4 separate regions of the Homo sapiens genome follow, and regions 1, 3 and 4 are each linked to region 2. The links are contacts of gene promoters, found by promoter capture Hi-C in human tissues and cell types (Jung and others, 2019). All regions are on one chromosome and are shown on one strand. Each heading gives the region's core, a stretch centred on a gene start or on the middle of the fragment in contact. The rest is flanking DNA. Distances are from core to core; before and after follow the strand shown. Region 1 overlaps LOC105372462 (a long non-coding RNA gene). Region 2 holds the start of DNAAF3 (dynein axonemal assembly factor 3). Region 3 overlaps SSC5D (scavenger receptor cysteine rich family member with 5 domains). Region 4 holds the start of ISOC2 (isochorismatase domain containing 2).

Region 1 (3,216 bases), core at 151-2,650, 260 kb after region 2:
GTGCACTCAGAGCATATGAGCTCTGAGCACATGAACTTCAGGAAGCATGAGAGCATGGGCTTCCTTCAGCCAAAGCGCTGAGACTCTGGCATCCCTTCTGTGGTTTTCCTGTCTCACACATGTAACCCAGATCTAATCATGAGGAAACATCAGATGCGCCTAAATGCAAGGCATATTCTATAAAATGGCCTACCTGGATTCTTTAAAAAATCAGCATTAAAAAAGGCAAAGACTGGGCTGGGCGTGGTGGCTGCCACCTGTAATCCCAGCACTTTGGGAGGCTGAGGCAGGAGGATCACTTGAGCCCAGGAGTTCTAGCCTGGGCAACATAGTGAGACCCCTTCTCTTAAAAAAAACATCTCCTTAATCTCTGCGTGAATTGTGTGCAATAATAAAAAATAAAAATAGAAAAGAAAGACAAAGACTGAGTAACTGTTTCAGAGTGAAGCCACCTCAGCCGGGCGCAGTGGCTCATGCCTGTAATCCCAGCACTTTGGGAGGCCGAGGCGGGCGGATCACAAGGTCAGGAGATCGAGACCATCCTGGCTAACATGGGGAAACCCCGTCTCTACTGAAAATAGAAAAAAATCAGCCAGGCTTGGTGGCGGGCACGTGTAGTCCCAGCTACTTGGAAGGCTGAGGCAGGAGAATGGCGTGAACCCAGGAGGCGGAGCTTGCAGTGAGCTGAGATCGCACCACTGCACTCCAGCCTGGGCAACAGAGCGAGACTCTGTCTCAAAAAAAAAAAAAAAAAAAAGAAGCCACCTCAAGAAGCACAATAGCTGCATGCAACACCCAATCCTGGAGTGTCACAAACTGAAAGCTGCTCTGAAAGACAGTAGCAGGACGCTTGATGCAATTCAAACATGGACTTGGTCAATGCTAAATTCTTGAGTGTGATAATTATGCTGTGGATGTGTAAGAGAGTGGCCTTGTTCTTCAGAATGGCCTCTAGGGGTAAAGGGATGTGATAGGTGCAACTTACTCCCAAATATCTCCAAAAAAAAAAAACACGATTTTTTTCTTTTTTTTAGAAGGTGTCTCGCTCTGTAACCCAGGCTGGAGTGCAATGGCACGATCTCGGCTCACTGCAACTTCCGCCTCCCAGGTTCAAGCGATTCTCCCGCCTCAGCCTCCTGAGTAGCTGGGATTACAGGCACCCACCACCACGCCTGGCTAATTTTTGTATTTTTAGTAGAGACGGGGTTTCACCATGTTAACCGGGATGGTCTTGATCTCCTGACCTCGTGATCTGCCCGCCTCGGCCTCCCAAAATGCTGGGATTACAGGGGTGAGCCACTGCACCTGGCTTTTTTTTTTCTTTCTTTTTTTTGATGGAGTTTTGCTCTTGTTGCCCAGGCTGTGGTGCAATGGCACGATCTTGGCTCACTGCAACCTCTGCCTCCTGGGTTCAAGCAAGTCTCCTGCCTCAGCCTACCGAGTAGCTGGGATTACAGGCGCCTGCCACCACGCCCAGCTAATTTTTTGTATTTTTAGTGGAGACGGGGTTTCATTATGTTGGCCAGGCTGGTCTCAAACTCCTGACCTTAGGTGATCCACCTGCCTCAGCCTCCCAAAGTGCTGGGATTACAGACATGAGCCACCATGTCCGGCATTTTTTTTTTTTTTTTTTTTATGAGACAGGTTCTGGCTTTGTGGCCCAGGCTGGAGTGCAGTGGTGTGATCTTGGCTGACTGCAACCTCTACCTCCTGGGCTCAAGCGATCCTCCCGCCTCAGCCTCCTGAGTAGCTGGAACTACAGGTGCATGCCAGCATGCCCAGCTAATTTTTTGTGTGCATATATATATATATATATTTTGTTGTTGTTGTTGTTGTTTTGTTGTTGTTGTTGTTGTTTTGGTAGAGATGAGGTTTCACCATGTTGCCCAGGCTGATGTCAAACTCCTGAGCTTAAGCAATCCACCCATCTCGGCCTCTCAAAGTGTTGGGATTACAGGTATGAGCCACCGTGCCCAGCCGAGATGAATATTTATATGGAAAGAAAACCATACAATGATGTCATATAATGGTAACAAATGGTGAGTTGGTGAAAATGACACAGAAGTTCTTTGACTTATTCTTGTAACTGTTCTGTACATTTGAAATTATTTCAAAATATAAAGTCAAGAAAAGTGAAATGAAAAAGCATGCACACAACATCTGGCATAGATTTGAGACATTCACAAGCCCACCCTTCAAATGCGGGTTAAGAATAGCTGCTGAGAGGCTGCATTTATTGGCACAGTCGGGTTGCCAGTTGAGCGAGTGTTAGGTGACAAAGGCGAACACTGAAGGCAGAATGCTCATGTCAGATCTTATCCTTGACTTGCCCGCCCTGCACACAGTGGGTGTGGAGCAGATTGCTCTTCTCTTGTTGAACACAAATGAATCCGTTGGCTGGCATGTGGCATCCATGAGGAATGAAAATACATACACTGAAGCACTGGAGTTCCGATTCAGAGTGGGAAGCTAATCACCCTCTGAGGGAGAGGAATGAGACTCCAGTCGCCCATCTCTCTCACGTGTCTTGGCATATGCTTAGTGAGGGGAATGGCAGGCAAAGTCTGCACCATTTGCATTTAAATCTACGCTGTGGGAGGCTGAGGTGGGAGGATCGCTCGAGGTCAGGAGTTCAAGACTAGCCTGGTCAGCATAGCCAGATTCCCATCTCTACATTTATATTTTTTTAAATTCTTTTTTCTTTCTTTTCTGTTAATTAATTAATTAATTAATTTATTTATTTATTAGGCAGAGTCTCACTCTGCCAGCCAGGCTGGAGTGCAGTGGCACGATCTTGGCGATCTCAGCGATCTTGGCTCACTGCAACCTCCTCCTCCTGAGTTCAAGCGATTCTCCTGCTGCAGAATTTAAAAATTCTATTAAAAAAAAAAAGTAGGGCCAGGCATGGTGGCTCATGCCTGTAATCCCAGCACTTTGGGAGGCCGAGGTGGGCAGATTATCTGAGGTCAGGAGTTCGAGACCAGCCTGGCCAATGTGGCGAAACCCCGTCTCTAGTAAAAATACAAAAATTAGCTGGGGGCCTGGTGGTGGGCACCTGTAATCCCAGCTAGTCAGGAGGCTGAGGATCACTTGGGGAATCAAGGCTGCAGTGAGCTGAGATTGCACCACTGCACTCCAGCCTCTGCAATAGAGCAACACCCTGTCTAAAAAACAAAACAAAACAGTAGAGAGTACACTTGCCGATACAAAAATCCA
Region 2 (3,259 bases), core at 611-3,110:
GACCTCGTGATCTGCCCACCTCAGCCTCCCAAAGTGCTGGGATTACAGGTGTGAACCACTGCACCCAGCCTCTCCTGGAATTTTCTAAGTGGCTCTAAGATGTATTATATTTAGCCCCATTTTACAGGTAGGAGGAGCTGAGGCTCTAAGATGGCAAATTACATCAGAGGGGACCATCATCAATAAATATATTGGATTTTTTTTTTCATCAGAGGTACCACACTGGAAAATACCAAACATTTTTGGTTTTTAGATGGAGTTTCGCTCTCTTTTTTTTTTTTTTTTTTTTTTTTTTGAGACGGAGTCTCGCTCTGTCACCCTGGCTGGAGTGCAGTGGCGCGATCTCAGCTCACTGCAAGCTCCGCCTGCCGGGTTCACGCCATTCTCCTGCCTCGGCCTCCCAAAGTGCTGGGATTAACAGGCGTGAGCCACCGCGCCCGGCCGGAGTTTCGCTCTTGTTGCCTAGGCTGGAGTGCAATGGCGCGATCTCGGCTCACTGTAACCTCCGCCTCCCAGGAAAATAACCAAACTTTTTAATTGTACCATTGAAATGCCAGAATCCCTCTAGGGAGGGGGAGGAGACCAGCGGTCAGAATGCCTGGGTCCTAGCAACAGACCTTGCAGCCCCATCTTCTCCGGTTCCTCCAGGGCTAGGCTGAAGATCAGCATGTGTCGGGCCACAGCTTCCAGATTATTCTCCAGCACAAAGAACTAGAAGGATGGACAGGGCAGAATAATTCTGAGACCTGTTTGCCTGGGTCCTAGGAGACCCAGGAGAGCAGGCCCTCAGCTCTCTCCTTCCACACACCCGAGTTCTGTACACCAGCCTCTTCCTTCAAACACAGAAGTCTGTGTCCCCAGAGCTCTCTTCCCTTCCATTACTCAGAAGACCTCATCCTCGAGCTCTTCCCCACTATAGAACCCAGGAGTTCCAAACCCCAGCCCCTTCCTTCCCCCAAGACGCATCGGTTCGCTCCCAGCTTCTGCCTCCCTCAGATCTAGGAGTCTCCAGCCCCTTCATTCCTGGACCTGAGGTTTTAGAATTTCAATCCCTTCCTCCCTCAAGGACTCGGGAATCTGGGCTCTCATCTTCATCCCAGCTCACGTTGAACCTCCTGCGAGGCCAGAACTTCGCTCGGGACAGGGTCCGCAGCAGGTGCCGTCCATCCACAGAGCCCAGAAGCAGCACATCTAGCTCGGGGTTGCTGTGCACTGTATCGGCCTGGGAGTCTGGGTCCACAGGAGGACCTGGCAAGATGACAGCTGGCTGGGGCACCATGGTGGTTGGCAGAGCGTCCACCGTAGCATCCCCTATAAAAAATGGACTACAAATCCCAGTAGGCGTTCCGCCCGTGGCCTAGGTTCTAAGGGGAGGTGTTTCCTCTGAGTATTCTGGGATTCGCAGTCCGCAGACAGGACCTCGGGGCTGCCCCTGGGAGCGCGCCCTCTGCCGCTGGAGCGTTGGAGAACGTTAGCGCCCCCCTTGCCACCGACGCTGGGACTACGAGCTCTAAAAGGCCGTCTGCTCAGGCTGGGAAGGCAGACGGTGTATCAGACCTTGCGTGCTGGGACTCACTTTCAGCCTGCAGGTCCAGCGCCGGGGACAGGCCCCACCAGGACACGGAGCCGAAGCCGCTGCCGGAGCCGGCAGGTGTGGTCATCACCCTGCGGAAAAGACATTCTGGGAATCGCACACATTGCCCGCCCCGCTCCCCTCTCACCGCCCCTCACTTCTCGCCCCTTTGCCTCCACATGATACCTTGCCCACACCTTTATCCTCCAAATATCCCGGGACGCCCCTTCCTCTCTGCTCAGTGCAGCACTGTGGACCCGCGGCACTCCACAACCGCTGCCCAGAGTCCCCGCCCTTTTCGAGGAATCAAGCAATGGAAGCATGTGGGATGGGACCACAGCGAGCAACTGACCAATGAGAGTGAGCGAGGCCCGCCCTCTACAAACTTTTGGCCAATGGGAGCACTGAGGGCCAGCCTTCCCCCACACCTAGGAGAAGAGGGCGTGTGGACGCGGTTGTCATGACGACGGCGCCGGCGGGGGAAGGGGCGGTGCTAGAACAGGTTGGGGCGGAGTCAGGGTCGGTCCAAATTTCTGGAATGGGGGAGGCCTGGGCTGATTAAAATTGAGAGTGAAGGGAGCTTAATCTTATTTCTTGTTTTTTGTTTTTTTGTTTTCTTCATATGCCTTTGCTCATACGTAACGGAATTTTCATCAATTCAAATAAAGTGAAGTGTCTAGACTTTAGATGGCAGGCTTCTGAGCCCGCTCCCCGCCCCAGCACAACGTGGGCTCTACCACACAGAACAGCCCACAGGTGGGACACTGATGTGCAGGTCATTAAAAATTCAGGGATTTGTGAGCTGGTTATTGTTACACGAAGCCATAATTTAAACTTACAGCTAGATCCTTTTGTAGTTTCTAAGCGGGATGATTGGGTGTTCACGCGCATGCGTGAGATGTGCCTCCCTCAAACCTTGTTACGACATCGGCACATTACTCTTCTGACATGAACAAAAAAATTACAGGTAAATTCTGTAATCGTACAGTTAAATCAACTGCATTAAAATAAGGGTAAGTCGGCCGGGCGCTGTGGCCACGCCTGTGATCCCAACACTTTGGGAGGTCAAGGTGGGCAGATAACTTGAGGTCAGAAGTTGGAGACCAGTCTGGCCAACATGGTGAAACCGCGCCTCGACCTTAAAAAATACAAAAATTAACCGGGCGTGGTGGCACGCACCTGTAATCCCAGCTACTCCGGAGGCTGAGGCAGGAGAGTCTGTTGAACCTGGGAGGCAGAGGTTGCAGTGAACTGAGATCGCGCCTCTGAACTCCAGCCTGGGCGACAGAGCAAGACTCTGTCTCAAAAAAAAAAAAAAGAAAAACCAAAGTCTGAATGAGGCACATCTCTAGATCACCCCAGCACCCAGCACTGGGCTCAGCGCCCAAGGGGACTTGGCTCTCTGCCTCCTCTCCTTGCCCAGACACATGAGCTTAGACCAGTCACCCTTTCTGAGCCTCAGTCTGCTGCTCTGTGAAATGGGAATGTAGCGTGCAGCGGGCAGAGGTGCAGCGGATCTGCCTCCTGAGGGCAGATCTGGGCACTGGGAAGACAATACCTACTGGGGAAACGAAGGTTGAGACCTCAGACATTCCTGCAGAATCAGGCTGGCTAACCAGCCCCTTCCAGGCCAGCTCTAAGCCTGCAAGAGCCCCAGATCCTGGGTTTCTCTCTGGAGAATTAATG
Region 3 (3,067 bases), core at 156-2,655, 350 kb after region 2:
CTGGACGTGGGACACACCATCAGGAAGGGGCCTGGCTGAGGGGACCCCTACCGCAGGCAAACTAGGACCAACTCTTGGGGCTGGCACCACCAGGAGCCCAGGCAGTCCTCCAACTCTGAGAGTCCATGGAGACACAGGTGAGACACGTGGCTGGGGTGAGGAGACTGGGACGGTATTTGTCCTGGGGTAAAGAGACAGATTCCAGACTCCCCACTGGAACCCTTACCCCAGAAAGACTCAGCAGAAATATACCCTAAAACAAAGGGTTATCGGCTGAGCATGGTGGCTCATGCCTGTAATCACAGCACTTTGGGAGGCCGAGTTGGGAGGATTGCTTAAGCTCGGGAGTTTGAGAGCAGCCTGGGCAACATGGTGAGCCCCCCAAGATATGAACATTAGCTGGGTGTGGTGGTACGCACGTGTGGTCCCAGCTGCTTGGGAGGCTGAGGCAGGAGGATCCCTTGAGCCTGGGTGCTCGAGGCTGTGGTTGTGCCACTGTATTCCAGCCTGGGTGCCAGAGCGAGACCTTGTCTCAAATAAAGACAAAAACAGAACCAAGAGGTTATTATCTAGACCGCTGGTCATCAACTAGGGTCGATTTTGCCCCCAAGGGGAATTTGGCAATATCTGAAGATATTTTGGATTGTCATGGCAGGAAGTGAGAGGCTACCCATTGGCACCTGATCGGTAGAGGCCGGGGTGGTGATAAACATTCACAATGCACACGACATTCCCCATAACAAAGAACCACCCAGCCCTAAATTACAATAGTACCGAGGTTGAGAAACCCCAGCCTAGATGGCATAAGTCACTGTGACAAATAGGAAAATGATAGGAAACCCTAGATGAGAAAGAGGAAAACAGGTGATTCCCAGAAAAGGAAGCCCAAATGGCTGAGTGTATTTAGAAATGCCCACGCTCATCAGGAACCAGAAAATACAAATTAAAACAATGGCAAGTACAGAGGAGAATGAGAAAGGTGGGTATTATCCAGTGTGAGTGAGGATGTGGGAAGACAGGCAACCCCACTGGACAGAGCTGTTTGATAAAGACAATCCAGCAGTATTTAGTAAAGTTAAGCATGATTAGGCTGGCTGCAATGGCTGACGCCTGTAATCCCAGCACTTTGGGAGGCTGAGGCGGGCAGATCACGAGGTCAGGAGATCGAGACCATCCTGGCTAACACGGTGAAACCCTGTCTTTACTAACAATACAAAAAATTAGCCAGGCGTGGTGGTAGGCACCTATGGTCCCAGCTACTCGGGAGGCTGAGGCAGGAGAATGGCGTGAACCCAGGAGGCAGAGCTTGCAGTGAGCCGAGATTGCGCCACTGCACTCCAGCCTGGGCAACAGAGTGAGACTCTGTCTCAAAATAATAATAATAATAATAATAATAATAATAATAATAATAATAATAATAATAGGTGTGGTGGCAGGCGCCTGTAATCCCAGCTACTCGGGAGGCTGAGGCAGGAGAACTGCTTGAACCTGGGAGGCGGAGGTTGCAGTGAGCTGAGATCGCACCACTGCACTCCAGCCTGGGCAACAGAGAAAGACTCTGTTAAAAAAAAAAAAAAAAGAGAGAGAGAGAAGAAGGGAGGAAGGGAGAAAGGAGGGAAGGAAATCTGCATGAGCTCCATGACGTAGATCTATAATTTTGCCCATTTCTCAGATGAGTGAAATTGAGGCACAGACATCAGTGACTCTGACATCAATAATTATTAGAGTGCTTATTCCATGCTAGACATTACACTAAGTGCTTTGCACAACCATGGTCTCCCTGAGTCCTTTTGACAGCTCTGCAAGGGAGATACGCGGATCATCCACAGTCTATAGCTGAGGAAGAAACTGAGATTCAAGCAGTGAAGTAACTTGGCCGTGGTCACCCCGCTAGGAAGCCATGCAGCTGGGGTTTAAACTCGGACAGCCTGCCTTGAGCACAAGCCCTTTACTTAACCGCTTCTCCAATCCTGCAAACAAAGGACAAGGTGGGGAAGGGATGCGCCTGAAAGACCCTGCCCTGCAGGAACAAGTGGAAATCTGTAGATCTGTGTGGTTCAATACGGTAGCTAAGAGCACCGGGCATGGTGGCTCACGCCTGAAATTCCAGCACTTTGGGAGGCTGAGGCAGGCAGATCACCTGAGGTCGGGGGTTCAAGACTAGCCTGAACAACATAGTGAAACCCCATCTCTACTAAAAATACAAAAAAATTAGCTGGGCATGGTGGCACATGCCTGTCATCCCAGCTACTCAGGAAGTGGACACAGGAGAATCACTTGAACCCAGGAGGCGGAGATTGCAGCGAGCCAAGATCGCGCCACTGCACTCCAGCCTGGGCAACAGGAGTGAAACTCCGTCTCAAAAAAAAAAAAAAAAAAAAAGTTAAATGAATTAACACTTTGAAAATGAAACATTTGCCGGGCGCAGTGGCCACGCCTGTAATCCCAGCACTTTGGGAGGCCGAAGCGGGCGGATCACGAGGTCAGGAGATCGCGACCGTCCTGGCTAACACAGTGAAACCCCATCTCTACTAAAAATACAAAAAATTAGCAGGACATGGTGGCGAGCGCCTGTAGTCCCAGCTTCTCGGGAGGCTGAGGCAGGAGAATGGCATGAACCTGGGAGGCAAAGCTGGCAGTGAGGCGAGATCGTGCCACTGCACTCTAACCTGGGCGACAGAGTGAGACTCCGTCTCAAAAAAAAAAATAAAATAAAATAAAAGAAAATGAAACATTTAGTTTCTCATTCACACTGGCCGCATTTCAAGGGCTTGGTAGCCACATGTGGCCAGTGGCTACTGTATTGGCACGGTAGATCACAGCGCATTCCCATCACTGCAGATGTGAGATTTCATTGCCTAGACTCTATGTGCAAACAACTTGGGTTCAAGTCTTAGCCCTGCAACTTGCAAACTATGTCTGTGTGACCTTGGGCGAGTCACCTGCCCTCTTGCCCTAATTTCCCCCTTCTGTAAAATGGGGATAAAATTGGCACTCACTTGGAAGACAGCCCCAGAAGAGGGTCAGGCTCCTCCTGCTACTCAGGCCCAAAATTTAAGGGGGTGCC
Region 4 (3,439 bases), core at 159-2,658, 300 kb after region 2:
TTAAGTAACAATACGAAAACATGTTTGAGAGAAGTGAAAAAGAAGCAGAACAGTGTGTATGGAATGCTCCTTTTTGTGCCAAAGAAAAAAGGGAGAGGAAAATGTGTCTGTGTTGCCTATATCTATATCTGCTATCTCTGGCAAACAAGCAAGAAACGGGAGACTCAGGCGGGTGAACCAGGCACCGGGGAAGTCTGTAGGAGCCTTTTCACTGGGTCCTATTCTGTTTCTTCTGAATTCTGGACAATGTGCAACAAGTTGTCTAGTCAATACTATATACAATAAAGGGTTGGCATAAAGCCAAAACCCGGCAAAACTGATCTATGGCGTCAGAAGCCAGGACAGTGACTGCCCTTGGACCACAGTGATGGAAACGACGACGGCGGGAGATCCTGGGATGTGGCGCATGTTTGACTTTTTTCTTTGGATACTTGTTTACACCAGGGTGCTCCCTTTATAAATATTTATTTAAGCTGTGTATTTGCAAACCGTTCGATTTTCTGCGTTTGTGGTATTATTCCAGAAAAAGTGTTCAAAATGCAAAATACAAAGATGGCTTCAGGCCCCCGCCGTGCGGTTGAACTGGAGGCAAAAGGCCAGAGAGCAGGAGGTCGGCGCTGGGGCCCAGTGGGACAGGGGAGAGTCAGGAAGGGGCAGCTGGGACGGTGGGGAAAGTCGGGGAGAAAGGCCCCCAGTTTCTGGTCGAGCGAGGGGCATGATCTGAAGATTCATAGGGGATCCCGGGGAGGGGAACTGGTTTTTGGGAGATGAAAAATTGGGGTGAGGGTGGGTGTGTGAGAGAGAGAGATGTGAAGGGGAGGTCTGGGCTGGAGAGGGTTGGGCGTGTCCTGCGGAACGAGGAGAGATTCAGCCTGGGTGGAGGGTACCCAAGGCCAAAGGGGGCGTGGCTGGAGGTGGGCGGCAACAGGGGGCGGGGTAGGGCCGTTGATTTCCCCACCCGGTCTCGGAAACCCGGCCTTGGAGCCCGGACTTCCTGGCTGTGTGACCTTGGGCAAGTTTCTCTTTGTCTTAGCCTCAGTTTTCTCGTCGGAGAAATGGGGATTAAACCTGCCCACCCCCCAGCGCTGTTACAGAGGCGGCAGGCGCGACCCGGGGACGCTTCCAATCTCTGGCCAGCCAATTCTGGCGGGGCCAGGTGGAGTCCTCCTTCTGGTCCTGTGACCTTGGCCCGGGACGCCCAGGCAGAGCCTCAGTTTCCCCATCTGCTAGGCGGTAAGGTCGGTCTCCAAATAGCGCCAGCAGCGAGAGAGGACTTACCCGGAAGGTGCCGGGTTCGAGCCCGGAACGGCCCCTCTGCAGGTGAGGCGGGGGCACCCTCACCTCTCGGCTCTCGGACGGCCACCGCTGAGGCCTCTTGCGGGCTTCCCAGGGCTGGTTACCGTTTCGTTAGGGCTGGACACGTGGCCCACCCCCTGCACCGTCCGTTTTCCGCCCACTTGGGCCCAGCCGTCCAATCGACACTCATCATGCTCTGCCTCGCCGCTCTCTCCGGCCAATCCGCATGTGCCACTGCCTCTGCCCGCAATCGGCGCTCACCAACTCACCCCGCCCCCTGCCTCTCAACCAATCCGCATATGCAGCTGCTTTGCTCCCGCCCCAGGGGGGGCGGTGCCGGCAAGGCTGTCAGTCTCAAGAAAATGATTAGCTCGCAAAGGCGCCGTGGGGGCGGGGCAGCAGGTCGTTCTGCCAATGGAGAGCCGTAGAGGGCGTGAGTGGCGGCCGACGGGGCGGAGTCGCGCGGTGGTCTCCGAAGGCTCAGACTCTGGCTGGAGAGAGGGCGTCTCGGCCGGCCCCATTGCACAGAGCAGACCGCCGAGGCCGGGAGAGAGAGAGAGGGGTCTTACCTAGAGTAGAGGCATGTCTGCGGTTCGAAACCTGGCCCTCTCTCAAGAAACGGAGGCTTACAAAGATACCCAAGCACTTTCCAGGAAGGGGCTGGCTGAGGGAGCGATCAAGTGAGGAATTTGACGCCCCCCTGTCCTTTGCGCTCTGTGCTGCCTCAGTTTCCCCATCTGTACAGCACCTGCCTCCTCGGGTGGTGTTTAGAATAATTTAGACTCTGTGCTTGGAAATGGAGGTTGAGAGAAAGAGAGAATTTCCTATCTGTCTTGGAATAAATCCAAACTCCTCCCAATTCATGGTCGGCCTTCCTGGTCCGTGCAGACCTCGCCTCTCACCACTCCCCCTGCTCACTCCGCTCCAGCCACAGGGGTCTCCTCTTGCTCTTCCCTCAATGTCCCACCGCAGGGCCTTTGCACGTGTGCTGCCTCAGCCTGGAATCCTAGGACTCCCCATGGCCCAACCTTCCAGGCTTTCAAAGCCTTTCCTGACCACCTGGTGTCAGGTAGCCCTTCCATCAGGTCGCTGTTTTTAATTTTTTTGAAACATCAAAAAAAAGAAAAAAATTGCTCTATCACCCAGGCTGGAGTACCATGGTACGATCACAGCTTGCTGCAGCCTCAACCTCCCGGGCTCAAGCGATCCTCCCACCTCAGCCTCCTGAGTAGCTGGGACCACAGGTATGCGCCACCACACCTGACTAATTTTTTAATTTTTTTGTAAAGATGGAGGTCTCACTCTGTTGCCCAGGCTGGTTTTGAACTCCTGGGCTCAAGTGATCCGCCTGCCTTGGCCTCCCAGAGTGCTGCGATTACAGGTGTGAGCCGCCGCACCCGGCCTTGTGTTTTATTTTCTTTTCAGCACTAACTCCAATCTGAATTGGAAATGAATCTTGCTTTTTGAAAAATGCATGGATATACTCTTTTATTGTCTGTTCCCCGCCAAAACACACACATGCACACAGAACAGGGAGCTCCCTGAGGCAGGGGTCCCGTCTGCCTCGTTCACAGCTGAATCCTCAAGTCCTAGACCTGGGCCTGGCCCATAGTAGGCGCTCGATACATCTTTGGGAATAAATGACAGGAGAGCAGACATTAGGCAGAGGTGAGCCTGGGTGAGAGTGAGGGGTGGATGCCCAGATGGGGCTAGGCAGAAGGAAGGGGGAAGGCAGGAAAGCAAGAAGAGGTGGAGGTGGGGCCCCTGGGCCCAGGAGGAGACCCCTGAGGCAGTGGTCTGAAGTGGGGGTCTGGGTTGGTTTATTTTCCCAGGGGCTGCCAGGAAGGGAGTGGACAGGTTGGGGGCTCCTGGAGAGGGCTGTAGAGCCGTCGTGGAGGGGCCTCTGGCTTGTCCTGGGTTCTGGGCTGGGTTGTGATTGGCCTCATGGGGAGCTGGTCCCCCAACCCTCGGGGATCCCCTGAGAATCCCAGGCACGAGGCACCTCCCAGCAGTCCACCCAACCCCAGTCGGGAGCCACGAGATCAGCCTCTTCCCCCAGGGCATGCTGGGGAAGGGGCAGGGGGCCGCAGAAATGTGGGACCTGCCTCAGGTCCAGCTGGCCCAGGTCGCGATGGGACAGACC

What was found. The method cuts DNA at HindIII sites, captures the fragments that hold promoters and counts their contacts. A contact is called where the count stands out against the background at its distance.
Region 1: a contact is called between a fragment that was not itself captured here and the fragment with the promoter of DNAAF3 in region 2, in 5 of the 25 tissues and cell types used here (IMR-90 fibroblasts, dorsolateral prefrontal cortex, lymphoblastoid cells and 2 more).
Region 3: a contact is called between a fragment that was not itself captured here and the fragment with the promoter of DNAAF3 in region 2, in 2 of the 25 tissues and cell types used here (dorsolateral prefrontal cortex and lymphoblastoid cells).
Region 4: a contact is called between the fragment with the promoter of ISOC2 here and the fragment with the promoter of DNAAF3 in region 2, in 1 of the 25 tissues and cell types used here (mesenchymal stem cells).

Annotation. Positions count from the first base shown.
Region 1 is chr19:55,421,406-55,424,621 of GRCh38, forward strand. All of the region lies in intron 2 of LOC105372462 (a long non-coding RNA gene), which reads left to right. Among named protein-coding and RNA genes, the nearest start is that of UBE2S, 15 kb to the left of the region's middle. The HindIII fragment of the contact is 5,851 bases long and covers 1-3,216 here.
Region 2 is chr19:55,164,753-55,168,011 of GRCh38, forward strand. DNAAF3 (dynein axonemal assembly factor 3) reads right to left here and starts at 1,861. Exons shown (of 12, transcript NM_001256715.2): 1 at 1,771-1,861; 2 at 1,577-1,665; 3 at 1,106-1,248; 4 at 618-711. The coding sequence starts at 1,661. It overlaps DNAAF3-AS1 (DNAAF3 antisense RNA 1), which reads left to right. Exons shown (of 4, transcript XR_007067345.1): 3 at 1-48; 4 at 1,067-2,152. It overlaps LOC124904795 (small nucleolar RNA U13), which reads left to right and starts at 2,419; the gene lies at 2,419-2,522. RefSeq lists a silencer at 1,241-1,472. The HindIII fragment of the contact is 9,836 bases long and covers 1-3,259 here.
Region 3 is chr19:55,513,036-55,516,102 of GRCh38, forward strand. It overlaps SSC5D (scavenger receptor cysteine rich family member with 5 domains), which reads left to right. Exons shown (of 14, transcript NM_001144950.2): 13 at 1-137. Among named protein-coding and RNA genes, the nearest start is that of SBK2, 23 kb to the right of the region's middle. The HindIII fragment of the contact is 4,152 bases long and covers 1-3,067 here.
Region 4 is chr19:55,460,234-55,463,672 of GRCh38, forward strand. It overlaps ISOC2 (isochorismatase domain containing 2), which reads right to left and starts at 1,409. Exons shown (of 6, transcript NM_001136201.2): 1 at 1,279-1,409. C19orf85 (chromosome 19 open reading frame 85) reads right to left here. Exons shown (of 2, transcript NM_001386794.1): 2 at 2,768-3,439. The coding sequence ends at 3,239. RefSeq lists an enhancer at 2,794-3,439. The HindIII fragment of the contact is 25,257 bases long and covers 1-3,439 here.